Linked DNA regions of Homo sapiens: region 2 is linked to region 1. The links are contacts of gene promoters, found by promoter capture Hi-C in blood cells and fetal thymus (Javierre and others, 2016). All regions are on one chromosome and are shown on one strand. The core of a region is centred on a gene start or on the middle of the fragment in contact, and the rest is flanking DNA. Distances in the headings are between cores, read along the strand shown.

The links. Contacts are between HindIII fragments. The CHiCAGO score rates a contact against its expected background, and 5 or more counts as called.
Region 2: a contact is called between a fragment that was not itself captured here and the fragment with the promoter of C1orf74 in region 1, in 1 of 17 cell types (activated CD4 T cells). The highest score is 5.7, in activated CD4 T cells.

Annotation. Positions count from the first base shown.
Region 1 is chr1:209,779,660-209,787,198 of GRCh38, reverse strand. It overlaps C1orf74 (chromosome 1 open reading frame 74), which reads left to right and starts at 2,640. Exons shown (of 2, transcript NM_152485.4): 1 at 2,640-2,821; 2 at 3,490-7,539. The coding sequence starts at 3,565. The coding sequence ends at 4,374. It overlaps IRF6 (interferon regulatory factor 6), which reads left to right. Exons shown (of 9, transcript NM_006147.4): 9 at 1-1,582. TRAF3IP3 (TRAF3 interacting protein 3) reads right to left here. Exons shown (of 17, transcript NM_025228.4): 15 at 6,593-6,729; 16 at 5,741-5,854; 17 at 4,889-5,143. The coding sequence ends at 5,051. RefSeq lists enhancers at 1,702-2,317, 2,502-2,761, 2,318-2,935. The HindIII fragment of the contact is 4,418 bases long and covers 851-5,268 here.
Region 2 is chr1:210,339,171-210,346,340 of GRCh38, reverse strand. All of the region lies in intron 1 of HHAT (hedgehog acyltransferase), which reads right to left. Among named protein-coding and RNA genes, the nearest start is that of HHAT, 14 kb to the right of the region's middle. The HindIII fragment of the contact is 7,893 bases long and covers 1-5,435 here.

The sequences.
Region 1 (7,539 bases), core at 1,391-3,890:
GTTGCCCAGGCTGGAGTGCAGTGGCAAGTCACCACTTACTGCAGCTTTAAGCTCCTGGGCTCAAGCAATCGTCCTGCCCCAGCCTCCTGAGTAGTTGGGACAACAGTCGTGCACTATGATGCTTGGCTAATTTTTTTTTTATTTTTGTAGAGATGAGGTCTTGCTATGTTGCCCAGGCTGGTCTTGAACTCCTGGGCTCAAGCAATCTGGGACCTAAATGGCAAATAAGATGCTAATCTGTGGTTGCAAGCCCCAGTCCTCTTGAATAGTGATGCCTATCTGTCTGTGTCGGGACATAGTAAGGAAGCCCATGTCTAGTCTGGTACCTTTAAACCAGGCCATCTCCAACTTTTCAAAATGACTCAAAAGTTGAGCTAGCCTTATTTTAAAAACTAAAAGTTCAAAATCAGTGGTGACATGAGGACTTATTTATTTAAAGTGCTTAAGCCTTGGTTTTAGAGTTTCTAAGAGACCTAGTGGAATTTGCTATTATGAAAAGCATGAAAAGATTAAGAAACCTGGCTAAAGGTCAGGTGCCCAGCTTCGAGGAAAAGTTGGGCTTTTAGGGACCGGGAAGCATTAAAGGCACAGAAACTTTACATTTTGGGGGTCATTTTGTTGAGTAGGTGAAGTGAGGGATTTGGGCTTGATATTTGGCTGCCCCATCTCTACGTGGGAACTCAAAGTTAAAAACCCACTGTAGGTAAATTAGAAGGGCAGCTCTTGAATCTGGGCCAGTCTATATCCCTTCTGTGAAGTGCTAACAGCCAGGCTATCTGTAGCCTGGGTGGGAGCCCAGATAATGTGAGCTGGTAAAGGGTATTGGAAAAGTGCCAAGAAATGCCAAGCTTTTGGTTCGTAACCACTATAAAAAGTTTATGAACATGTCAGAGGAATGGATGAGTGATTTGTGAGGTCTTAACTAGATACCCCGGTTTCTTCCTTGTTTTGGCTTCTTTTCAGAATGCCGGGAGAGTACATGCAGGGATTCCATCTAATCACCCTCAGCACTCTTTCTCTGGTCCTGCTGGATAGATTTAGATTTCCTTTCTTTTTTTAGGGCCTCAGTCTGCTATCTCCTTTGGTGGCTACCACCACTCACTCCCTTGATATCTTCTACTCCCTTGCCTTCACCTTGCTTAAGACTGAGAAGGGAGTTAGATTTTGTCACTAGCTCTTCTTTTTCCTCACTGTGTACCCCACCAAACAAGATTAGTTCAAGTTAAAAAGAACCTACTGGAGGTAAACTGGGAGAGCAAGTGTTGGATCTGGGCTGGTCCCTTTCCCATAAAATTAGGTCCCTGGTTGTATGTTCCCATAGCACCCCATACTTCCTCTCTCAGAATAATCATTTCCCTTGTAATGCTCAGCATCCGCATCCTGCTTGACTGCAAACTTGCTGAAGGTAGGGACTGTTTGTCTTGGACTTCGCTGCCAGTCCTTAGAACAGTGTCTGGGACACAGTGTGTTCTCAAATATTTGTTGCTGGAATAAATGAATGAACTAAATCAGTCTTTTAGGGATTTACTGTTAACCACCATGGGAAAATTAAATAAATGCGGGGAAGGAAAACGTTCTAAAATTAGAAGACTACTTTCTACTCTCAGCTTCTGATTCCCTCTGAGCTAAGAACCAGACAGCCTTAGGCTGGTAACTCCTATAAGCTGGTCCTCCTCCCATGCTGACCCCATCTTTACTGTACAATTCACTTTTCATGGACTGAAGGCACCACCAAGATAGATCCAGGAGTGACAACTCCAGTGTAGGTGTCCACTGTTCCCTTAATCTCTGTCCTGCTCCAAGTATAAATAAATTGGGGCCATTTCCTTAGATATTGGGGTTTTCTCAAGAAATCCTTTCCCTTCGTGGCATGGGTCAAATCGCTGGTAGTTAAAAAGGTGTTAACTCTTACGTGAAATAACACTTTTTCTTTGTAATGACCTGACTGGAAAGCCTCTGTGTCATCACTTCTCATTTCTTATTTGAAATCAGCAAACTGGATTCAGTAGACATGAACTTAAGCCCCATGAAAGTGGGGGTTTTGTCTGTTTTGCTCACTGCAGTACCTCCAGGGCCTAGCAGCATGACTGGCACATATTTGTTCAAAGTGAATACTCACACCTTCACACCCTCCCTAGAGAGCTGTTGTAGGCCTCTCAAATGTAGGATTTAGGGAAGTCAAGTTAAAAAAAATTAAAACGTTTCAGCACCACCCACAGGTGAGGCTATTCTGCAAAATATGTTGTCTTGAGGTATGTTTCGTCTGGACAAAACGTATTTCCACAGACACAAATCAAAGGTGTTTATTAACTGCTGTGTGCCCTGTTTCTGGATTCCCAGTCAAGTGGGACACCAGACGTCATAACACAGGGAGGACGTTCGGCGAAGCAAAATGAGGGCAGCAGCGGGAAACCAGTTTCACCAGGTTCCGCCTTTTCTCGTTTACTTCCGCCCTTCCCAGTTCCTAAGCCGACAGATGGGGCCGCGTTCAGTCTGGCCGGAAAGGGCGGGCCGCACGGTGGCCCAAACTTCCGGCGCGCAGTAAGGCTGCCTAGCTAGTGATTCTAACGCGAGGCGCGCGAGCGGCTGGATGACGTCACGGAATGGGGGGAAAGAGGGCGGCACTCGAGTGGGTGCGCATGCGCAAGAAGGTGCCTGCGGGACTGGAGCAGAGCGGGCTGCGAGGGTCTTCCCAGCGCAGGCGGGTTTTCCAGTGTTACTTGCGGCTGGGCGTGGGGGACTAGCTGCCTTTCTGGCAGCAGGCAGGAAGCCGCAAAAAGTTTCTGAGCCCCCGAACCTGTAGCGGACGTGGAAAAAGAACGTATGTGAGACAGACTTATGCCTCATTTAGCAAATCACTATAACATGCTCTGGTGTGGGGTGTGTGGATCGGAGAAATCTCATCTTCCGAGGGTCCTTGATGTCGGACAGAAAGGGAAGGCGGGGCCAGCAGAAGTTAAAATACTACCCTTCTGCAGTTCTAGTGGATTTCATTCATTCATTTTTATGTGTCAGGGTGAGATGGTTGTTAGTCCACATTCTGGTGTATATTAATCAAATTACTATTCTTATAACTATTCTCTGGCGGGAAGAGTAGGGGAGTTGTCAGTGGAAAGGATACATTTGGAACTTGGAGCTCTGTCCCAGAAGGGCTTTTGGGCGAAATGCTGTGAATTTTGCCAAACACTGCCCCGCCTCCGCCTCTGCCCCAAATTCCCTACGGTTTGAACCAGAGAACGTAATTTGCAACAGGTGAAATTTAGAATAAAAGCCAGAGGGAATATAAATCTAGCTATAAGGCTAGAAAAACACACGAATTTATGATTGAGGGAGACCAAGTCAACCAGAAAAATCAAGCAGCATCGGTGAAACTATCTTGTCTGGGCTGGGTCGCCATTTCAAAGCAGGGAGGGACAGAATAACCTTTGGAAGATACCGCGATTTAACAGGAAGGCTGTTAATAATTCCCTGCTCCTGCTTTGTTTCTAGGCCCCTCCTCAAGTGTCTGGCTGAAAGATGCCACCCAGGGAAGGGAACTCGGGCTAGCTAAGGAGGCCATTCTTGATGTTGCTTCTAGATCTCATGTCATCACCGAGCCCTCAGCTGCTGGTGGCAGCTGCTCAGCAGACCCTTGGCATGGGAAAGAGACGGAGTCCACCCCAAGCCATCTGCCTTCACTTAGCTGGAGAGGTGCTGGCTGTGGCCCGGGGACTGAAGCCAGCTGTGCTCTATGATTGCAACTGTGCAGGGGCATCAGAGCTCCAGAGCTATCTGGAGGAGCTGAAGGGGCTTGGCTTCCTGACTTTTGGACTTCACATCCTTGAGATTGGAGAAAACAGCCTGATTGTCAGTCCTGAGCATGTATGTCAGCACTTGGAGCAGGTGCTGCTTGGTACCATAGCCTTTGTGGATGTTTCCAGCTGCCAGCGTCACCCTTCTGTCTGCTCCCTGGACCAGCTTCAGGACTTGAAGGCCCTCGTGGCTGAGATCATCACACATTTGCAGGGGCTGCAGAGGGACTTATCTCTAGCAGTCTCCTACAGCAGGCTCCATTCCTCAGACTGGAATCTGTGTACTGTATTTGGGATCCTCCTGGGCTATCCTGTTCCCTATACCTTTCACCTGAACCAGGGAGATGACAACTGCTTAGCTCTGACTCCACTACGAGTATTCACTGCCCGGATCTCATGGTTGCTAGGTCAACCCCCAATCCTGCTCTATTCTTTTAGTGTCCCAGAGAGTTTGTTCCCAGGCCTGAGGGACATTCTAAACACCTGGGAGAAGGACCTCAGAACCCGATTTAGGACTCAGAATGACTTTGCTGATCTCAGCATCTCCTCTGAGATAGTCACACTGCCGGCTGTGGCCCTCTGACTTTAACTCTCCTCCCATATAGAAGGTACTCAGTAAATGATCATCTCTAGGTTGGGGATGGCAAATAATCATCTCAACTGCCAATTCCAAGTGTCTTGAATACACTAAGGCACAATGCTGTAGATCAGTTGGCCACAAATGCAAAGGGCATGTAAATAGGTAATGGTGGTGCTAGTAGCAAATTGGTAGATAGTACATACTTGCCATTTCTATACTAGGAAGTCCTCTTAGTGGAGATGTTTTCATTTTCACTGGATAAAAGATAGAAGGAAGGAGATGATAGAGGAAAAGCAGGGTGATGGAAGACAAGCCAAACACTCTTGCATGGTAACCTTGTAAATATACCTGCTCTATGTGGGTGCTGCATGCTAGGAAAGTAGGGCTGGGGGCTTTTCTGCATGTTTATATGCCTCCAACTGAATTTGAGGAGAGTAGACCACCAGTATGCTTAAATATGTGATACTTGTTAATGTAATACACCATTCAGGAATAAACTGAGAGTTCTGAGGAACAATCTGGTCAGGTGAAGTTTATTTACAGTAGGTTAAGAAATTAATAAAAAGTCAGAAATCCTAAGTCAGTTGGAAAACCCAAGCTGTAATGTACCCAAACCTTCTGAGTTTTTCGCTGAGTTGCTTGCTTCTGATTTTCACCCAAGGCAGTTGTCACAAATTATTCAGATCATCAGGTTGTCTTTATTGGCCAGGAACACTGCCAGTGCTGCAGCAATCACCACCATCAGCACTGGGAGCCATCGCCCACATTGCCTCTGTAGGGGGACAGGGAGACAGAAGAAAGTGGCCATGAGTGGATTGGAAAAGATATAGGCAAAAATCTTTCTTCTTCCTACTCTAGCCCAGTGGAAAACGCTGGGTTGGTGGTGGAGAAAAAGCTTTTTACTCTGTCTCCCATTTTGTCACCTGTCTTGGGATAAAACCACTTAACCAATGTTCTCTGGCCCAGGGAGCCGTATCCATCAGGGACCAGATATATAAATACTGATATGAATAATGAAGGGTGGAAAATAACCCAGCAAAATTATATTCTTTCTTTGTATTCCCCAGTACTTTTGTGTCCTTCTGTTCTTGCCACCATGCTTATCATCGGCTAAAAGAACACCCTTTCATACTTTAGCTAAGAGTAAGTCTTTCCTTCTGGCATTGAGAGTTCTGTGAAAGTTGGGCTTTGATGGACGAGCCAGTGTTTTTTTCAATGGTTGCCATAATGTCAGTATAGTATAAACCAAGCACAGTGGGACAGGATGGCCAGTTGTTGGCGTGGGCTGATATATTTTATGTGCAAAACTTGGTTAAAGAAGGAATCGTCCCATCATCCAGGGCTTTATGGGAAGGAGAGACCCTCTTACTCTGGGAGGCAGCTGCTGGCTCTGGTTCAGCTCTTCTCGACAGTGCTGCAGCTTACGCAGGCAGGAGAGATACTCGTCACTGAGGTTGTCTAATTCTGAATGCAGTTCTCTGCACTGGGGAGAACATCACCAAAGTCATCACTGTCACTTCTGTCTAGGACAGAGCCCAGGCAGGGGAGACTGCCCTTTGTAAGTTTCACTCATTTGGAATTTTTACCACCATCTTCCCTTCCCAGCCATTCTCAGGGATTTGAGTTTGTCTTTTGACTGTCTTACATTGTCTGGAATGTGTTCATTTAAATGATTGACAGTAATGCATATTATAGTATTACATTTTATACATTTAAGTTCTTTTATATGACTTTACGTGCAAGTGCTTTGCAAATGAGAGACACCGAAAAATGAAGTTCTTATAGAACAAACGACCTAGAAGTGACCTTAGTACAAGTTTCTTTCCCAGGAGCTAGTTGCATATCAATACTTCTGGGGATGTGTATGTTTGTGAGTATGTACAAAGGAAGAGTTTTACTCTTTAAGAGACATATAAAGACTTAAGATACTCAATGTGGGACGACATATTGAGAAGTTAATATTTTTATTAAATGTGTTTGAGTTTTGGTCGACTTTCTAAAAGGTAATCATTTAATAAAACCTTGAATAGGAGTTGGTATAAATAAGGAAGGGAAAAGATTGACAAGTCAGCCCAAAAGCACAGACACTTTATGTAGGCAAATGAATGTCTGTGGTTATCCACTCACAACTTAAACTTTGAAATCCCTGCTTTTTGACTGCCTCCCAGGTTTCTCTGCTATTTCGCAAATGAGCCCTCACTATCTCAGGTCACCCTCTCACCTCCTTTTCCTTGGCCTGGAGCTGCAAAGTCTTCTTTTGCAGCTGGTCTCTGAGATCCCAGTCTTTCTCCTTCCCTGTACCCTCAGGCTCCACTTCGTTAGGGAAGGACTTTGGACTCCACACGGGCAAAGCCTGATCTAAAAAAGCAGCCAGATTCTTGGTGACAGTGAGGCCCACACCTCTGAGGAAGGGCCCTGAGGGTGAAACCACTAGGAGTGGGGAGAGGGGAGGGAACTTGGGAGGGCGTGCTCTTGGCTAGACTGATGGCATTCTCTGACATAAAGGTTAACTTCCAGTAGGCCCCTGCTAAGCTTGGACAGACAGCTGGAATCTGAGCTCCTTGAGGGCAAGATTGGGATCTTTTCTTTGTATCCCCAGTCTTATCTAGTGCTAGATAGTTTTAGTGAATACTTCTTAATTGAATTTCATTGGTTGTATGTCACATTCTTCCTAGTTTGTCAAATAAGTTTGGTAAATGCTTTAATACAATCCCTTTTCCCTGATGTCCTCATTTGAAAGTTGTGAAGATGGCAGTCATATCCTAAAATTTATCTTCATATGGTTAAAGATGGTTTTTTAGCCACCCTGCAGTCTTAGTCTTGGTGAAAAGAGCATGGACTAGGAGTCAGAAGTTTTGGATTGTTGTTATAGCTGTGTTGTTAGTTTGTGTCACCATAGACTTTCATGTTCTTATCCATACTCTGTGAGCATAAAAATTTCTGCCTTATCTATTATATTATGCCCAATGATTGTGAAGAGAAAACAAAAGGTCGTGTGTAGTGGACAGGTGAGGAGCTATTGCCCCTCTGTATACACAGTGAATTCTCAGGAAACATGGACAGTAGACTCTCTAGGGCTAACAGTGAGTTGACTCTGGACTGCTATGTGGTTTGGGGCTGGGGAGTTGGATGTGATTTGGAAAATCAAGTGTGTAAAAATTGACATGA
Region 2 (7,170 bases), core at 240-2,739, 560 kb before region 1:
CCTGTCAAAAGATGTTGGTATTACATCGGATGACCTCTTTGCCTCATGAAGAATCTGATTAGCAAAAAGCTGATCTCCTAATTGGGCGACTGAAATTTGAACACAAATGATCTTGTAGACTGAATGAAAGTTTTAGAAGGCCTGCCATTAGATGCTTTTCAGGGACATTCTATCTGAGACAATCCTCCTGCATTAAGGATTTAATCCTCAGGGAACTAGAAAATTCGGTTTAATAATTTTTCATTTTGGTGCTGCTTTTTTTTTTTTTTTCTTCCTGGAGACAGGGTCTTGCTCTGTTGCCCAAGCAGGAGTGCAGTGGCATGATCTCAGCTCGCTGCAGCCTCAACTTCCCAGGCTCAAGCAATTCTCCTGCCTCAGCCTCCTGAGTAGCTGGGATTACAGGCATGCACCACAATGCCAGGCTAGTTTTTTATTGTTGTTGTTGCCCAGGTTGGTCTCAAACTCCTAAGCTCAGGAGATCCGCCCACCGTGGCCTCCCAAAGTGCTAGGATTACAGGCGTGAGCCACTGCACCCAGCTTAGTGCTGCTCTTAGCTGGATTGTACAGTGAGTCCTTACTGAACATCACCAGTAGGGTCTTGGAAATTGTAACTTTAAACAAAACAATGTATAATGCTACTAATTTTACAATAGGCTAATTGATATAAGCAAAAAGTAAGTTCCTACTGCATATTTCTGGTCACAAAAACATCATACATCTAAATAAAGACCAAAACACTTCTAATAGTAAACACTGAAATAAACAAGAGCTATACACATACACTTAAAGATTAATAAGCACAGGTAAGATCATTATTTACCCAAGTTTGGTGAATCAGCAAGTGATGGCAGTTGTGATGGTGGTCGGTTAAACCAAGGAATAAAATGTTTGCAAAGCAAAAATTATAAGGAGCACCTCCTGCCACCATGCAGTTCAAAACATTTACAATTAGGGTGGGCTCACTGAGCGCTTTCATACTACATTTTTTTTGTCATGCATTTGTATGATTATCATAGACTTTACAAATTTTTATTAATTTGTATTCATTCATTCATTTTCCACCCCACTTGTTCCAATTTAGGGTCTCTGGTAGCTGAGCCCATTCCAGCAGCTCAGGATGCAAAGCAGGAACCAGCCCTGGACAGGATGCCATCCCAGCGCAGAACCCACTCATACTCACTCCCCCACACTCGTTACCAAACACAGGTTCAGCTGCTCACCACTTGCAAAACAAATTAGCAAGATAGAGGTATGGCAGAAAGAAAGTGACTTTATTACAGACCAAAGCTAGCCATGGGGAAGACGGTCTAGACTCTTGCCTTAATGGAACCACTTCAAATTTCCAAGCAAAGTGCAAAGGTTTAAGAAGGGGAAGCAAGTTGCGGCATGGGGTGAGGCAGTGCAGGCCGGCATGACTTGTTCCGATGCCGGCATGACTTGTTCCGATGACTCGTCTTGAATTGTTGCTCCATCTTGTGAACGGGCTGGCAACATCTGGGGCTCAGCTGGGTTGTAAATTAACTGTACCCTCAAAGCCATCTCCTGGTAGGGGAGATTTTCACAGGTGCCTGTACTATTTCAAGGTCTAGTCTCTGGAACCTCGACTTCAGGCTGAAGGAGCCTAAAGACCCTACTGAAAGCAGATAACAGTGGCCCCAAAGGCTCCCCAAAACGGGAGGCAATTGCAGGGATTTCTAGGAATGTCTGGCTTTTGTTGAATTTGAATTCCAAATTTGGGGTTGATGGCTAAGCCACTTTATGAGGCCTTTAAAAGGGACTAGATTCAGAGCCCCCTGCCTTGGACAGATGAGCATCAACAGGCATTTGATGCCATCACAGAAAAACTTAATAGGACACTCAGTTACATTCACACACTGGGACCATTTAGACACACCAATTCACCTAATGGGCACAGCTGTGGGATGTGGGAGGAAACCAAGTACCCAGAGAAAACCCCTGCAGACATAGCGAGAATGTGCAAACTCCACAGACAGTGGCCCCAGCAGAAACTCCATTTTCTTCTACTCAGTGGTATAAGGAAACAATAACATTGTTTCAATGAAACAATAACATAGTTTCAACAATGCTCTATGTTTTGTAGACAAATACACAGAGATACATAGTAACTAGCGGCAAAACACCAGGTAACTAAGCAGGGAAACTAGCTGTCCCCTCACCCCCAAAATTTAGGAATTGAACCAAATAGTCTCCACTTGACAGCACAGTGATACATTCTGGCACCAAACCCACCTGTGGGGTTCAGGGAGGAGGGGTGGGCTGGTGCAGGGAGAGTCCCAGGCTGTGTCATTTATTGGTTAAGGAAACGGGTAGATAACGGCCTCCCAGATGTTTTCTTATAGGGTTGTTGAAGGGGTTAAATGTAAAATGCTTAGCCCAGGGCCTGGCAGTGAATAAGCACTCAACAAACATTAGTAGTTACTAGTTAGTGAATTTCACTCATCAGGAGCCTACCTAAGCCCTGACCCTGATTTTCTCCCTGAATCAAAGAAATCTGGCTGAACTTCCTGGGGTATGCCCATCCTACGTGCATCTGGACCTCTTTCAGGAAGTTGGCATCCCCAGGGATTTCGTTAATGTCTCATTCCTCTTCTGACGCCCAATCCAAAGCCACCCTGGACAGCAAGCAAACTATCCCCGGGGACCACCCGCAGGCTTTCAGCCCGGTGCCTCTTCCTCACCACCTACGTCTCTGCTACTCCCAAGGGAATGACAGGCAGTACTTTCCACTTTCATTTTCACCTCTCCATTACACGAATGCCACCTCGAAACACCACCACCACACAGACACTCACCCATCCTCCTTAACAGAGCTTTCTTCCTCACACACTCTCTTTTCAACTCTTGCCTGTAGCTGACTGCAATGGTTACTATTTGAGACTGTCACTACGACAGTCACTACTGTTACTACTTGAGACAGTCATTAGGAGACTGAAGGAAGGAGGACGAAGGCAGAAATGAAAACTTAAAAGTAACTATTTTAAAGGAAGGGGCCAGGGGAAGAAGAGAGCTCCCTGCTTCTAGGGAGCAAAGGCAGCAACCTCGAGCTTCTACAGCCCTTTGTTTTTATTGGGCAGAAAGAGCAGGGAGGAGGAGGTAATGACTGGTCAGCTGCTTGATTGATCACAGGTTCACGTTATTGCTAACAGGCTTCAGATTTGCCTAATCACAAGAAACACTGTGCCTGGGTGGTGACTGCCCCCCAGCATTCTTTCTGGGAGGCAGACACAGTTTGTCAGTTTGCCAACAACCTGCTTTCATGAGAAACAGTTTGCTGTTTACTCATATAGTCTCCAGTGGTATACTGAGTTGATCACGACCCTCATTCTTTCGGCCTTCAACACTCGCCCACTTATCTTAGGAAAATTATTTCCCTACTTTGTTTTCCCTGTTTATTTCAGCTGTGCAGCCAGAAAGTAAATCAGAGTAGATATGTCTTAAGGGATTTATGACACAATGTAAAAGAAAAGGAAAACTATATATTTGGGAATATAACTGGAACCTTTTTAAAATGTCCAGGCCCTTAGAGGTTCCCAAAAACTCTCTCACAAAATTACCAAGTTTCCATTTCTCATACTCTAAACAAGCATGTCCCTCTTTAGGCAGAGCAATCAGGCTGAAATCAAGGAGGTTCTTACTCAAATGTGTAAGTGATGTTTCTTTTCTGTTTTCATGCAGTCAGTCCTGCACCAACATTATCAGCTAAGTGGGTAGCTGTGAGATAGCCTAGAAAAGTCATCACCACTTACAGCATCATTTCTATAGAAAACGGCCAATCTATAGGGACACAGCCTGTGTTTAAGTAGCAGTCTACCTGATTAATCTACACAAATGAGATTGCACTATTGATATGTAATAGTGAAGGAGGGTTGTAGGGATGTGTGATGGTGAGATGTGTCTAAGAACACTTCCCCAGTGTGGGAATACTGGTCGGAACTGTAAAGAAGATAAAGTGTGGATGGTTCAGGGAAGGGAGAACAGGAGCCAAGTGGTAAGGAGTCTTAAAACATACGATTTCATGTTTAAATTTTATTTCCTGCAGAAACCTCAGGCTTGCAAGCCAGTACATAAAATTATTTGAATGAAGCTCTACAAAGCAGCCCCTTGATGCTGTGGTAGACCCAAGAGGCAGGGAGGTTGATGATTTAGGCCCTTAGTGAAAGTGGAGAGAGTGCTGGAACCAAGCCACACAGATGGGGAAAAATTGAGTTGTCCTTGGCATCAAAATAGTCCAGAAGCTGGTAGGGGGAAAAAAGAGGAAGATGAAGAAGATAAAACAGCAACTCCAAAGCTGTAAGACAACAGGATCTTGAAGCTAAATGTTGTTGAAAAGAGTGAGAATTTTGAGGCAAGTGAGGACAAAGCGGTAGAACGTGCATTTAATACTAGATGTTAAAGGAAATCATAGCAAAGTTTTCCCTGGAATCAGAGGGAAGGAATTCAGACTGGAGGAATAGGGAGCTTTCTCCACCTCCAAATTGGGTACAAACACCCCAAGGTTGAATATTTCAAAAAATATATTTATCTGGGAATTATAGAACTCAAGAGGGCCACAGAATAAAATCTTAGCTGTAAAATGGCAAGAATCTCTCAGCTCACAGAACTTTTTCTATACTGGAGCCACTTGCATTTGCATTTACTTTGGAATTTAACACTCCACCTGCTTTCAAAGATGCCATCTACTCGGATCCTCTCAGGAGGGCTAAGTTTTTAGGTCCCTTTCAGGAATCAGAATCCTGCTCAGGAAGAAGCAGCGATCTACCCACGGACAGAGAAGCCAGCAATGGAGCAAAAATTAGAACCAAAATTCCCAACCCCCACTGTCATACAGGCAGAAATCCTGTTCCTTGATCTTGGAAGAAAAGTACAGCACACCTTGCCAAAGCCTGAAACATACATAAACATAACGGCTGCAAGATGCTTTTCCCCCAGCAACTTCCAATATCATTTCAAAAATACTTTAGCTTTACTTCTGATGCAGGCAACTAATGGATTCCAACACTTCCATTTTAAATTTTTTCTGCTTTTAAATCTTGATATCAAGCACTAAATGGGCTATAACCCAATACTCACATGCACCAGAGAACTTTAACAAGACAGCTCTCATCATTAAGCTAACAATCCCTCCATACCAGCATCACCATCGTCACTTCTACTGACTCACTGCTTAATGTCCTAAATGAAGATTTCCCTCTACTGAGTTTTCTTATGCTTTAGTAATAGCTGTACTATAACAAGTACTATTTACAGATTTCCTATGCTGAAAAGGCACTTTACAAGTATTATCTCACTTAATCTTCATAACAAACCTTTGAGGTTGGTGCTTCTGATAACCTCACTTAACACAAGAGGAAACCAAGGCCCAGAAAGGATAAGTAAACCCGCCCCAAATCACACAGCTGGTAAGCAGCAAAGCTTAGATTCATACCCAGTAAGTCTAACTCCAGAGCCTTCCCTCAGCCACCTCACTATTCTTACAGAGTGTACTGGACTCATTTTTTCCAAAATCTATAATGAAATCAATCCATTAGGAAAGCTAGAATATAAGTGGTCTAAATGTAATAGAATTTTTAAACGTTATGCATAACGTTAGACACTCTCTGATAAAAAAATTTAAATCAATAAAATGTAATCAAAATACACATGAAATATCTAACTCACATACATTCCTTAAAAGATTTACTGAAAAAGGCAAACTAAACCTAACCGATTTACCTTGGAAATAAGAGGGGAAAGTCAGCAGTTATGCAGAGATAAGAGTAAAATTGAAATAGCTCTAAATTCAGGAACAAATGAGCACTCTGGAAACCACAAGCAATAAAAGTGAAAGAAGCACATGCCCACTGAAATGACAACGGCTTTAAAGAAAATGAAATAGTAGTGCAATATTCTAGCATATTCGGAAAAAGTGGTATGAGACTTTTGCCTTTTCCAGGGTCCAATTTTCATGAAACTGAATCCCATTTTGTAGACTCTAAATTACATGATTTTCTCCAAGAAAACCACCAAGTCCAGATTCCCATATCACAATTCTCTCCAAACCCCACTTGAGTCTTTTTTTTTTTTTTTTTTTTTTTTTTCTGAGACAGAGTCTTGCTCTATCCCCCAGGCCGGAGTGTGCTGCCCCACTAATTTTTGTGTTTTTAGTAGAGACTGGGTTTTGCCATGTTGCCCAGGCTGGTCTTGAACTCCTGGCCTCGAGTGATCCTCCCGCCGCAGCCTCCCAAACTGCTGGAATTACAGGTGTGGGCCACTGTGCCCAGTCCCCATTTAAGAGTCTTACAAAGACTTATTCTTCAACCCACATAATACTAAGAGGAAACACTTCTCCAAACCCAGAAAGGTTTCACCAACACAGAAGAATGACTAGATAGACTGGAAGAGGTGCACTGGAGTGGGGAAAAAAGTCTAATTACAGAATAGTTTAAAATATATACCCACTACTTCCACATCCGCACCAACATATTATGTATTAGTTATGTATTGCTGCATAAGAAACCATCACAACATGTGATGCCTTAGAACAATGAACATTTATTCTTTTTAAGGATTTTGTGGGATGGCAGTCTGGACAGTTCTGTTCATGTCCCTCCTGAGGTCACTCATGTGACTTCTGTCACCACACAACTCCACTGGGGCTGGAGGGGGCCATGATGACCTCATGCACATGTCTGGCATTTGGCGCCAGCTCACACAAGTCACCTCCCTTCTCCCCCAGGCCAGGGCTCCTCCTCTGGTAGGCTAGACTTGGCTTTTTCACAGCAGTGGGGTTTCAGGGTTCCAAAAGAACAGAGGCAAGAGGTGCAACATCCCTTAAGGACCAGGCTCCAGAGTTCACAGAACACATTATTGGTCAAAGCAAGTCCAAAGACCAGCCCGGATTCAAGGAGGAGAAAACAGACCATACTTCTTTATGGGAGGAGCAGCAAGGGTACCTTAGAAAGGGGTGGGCACACATCTAGCACACCAGGTATATTATAAATAGTTACTAATCAATAAAATCTGGAAAATTAGTTGAAAAGCTACCTTTCACAATGGATCTTTATTACATAAAATGTCACAAAGGTTGTTCCCTACCTTCTTATATATGTAATGGAAAAAAAATATGTTCCCAAATCAGAATTTCAAAATCAGTGGAGTCTCTATTGCCTT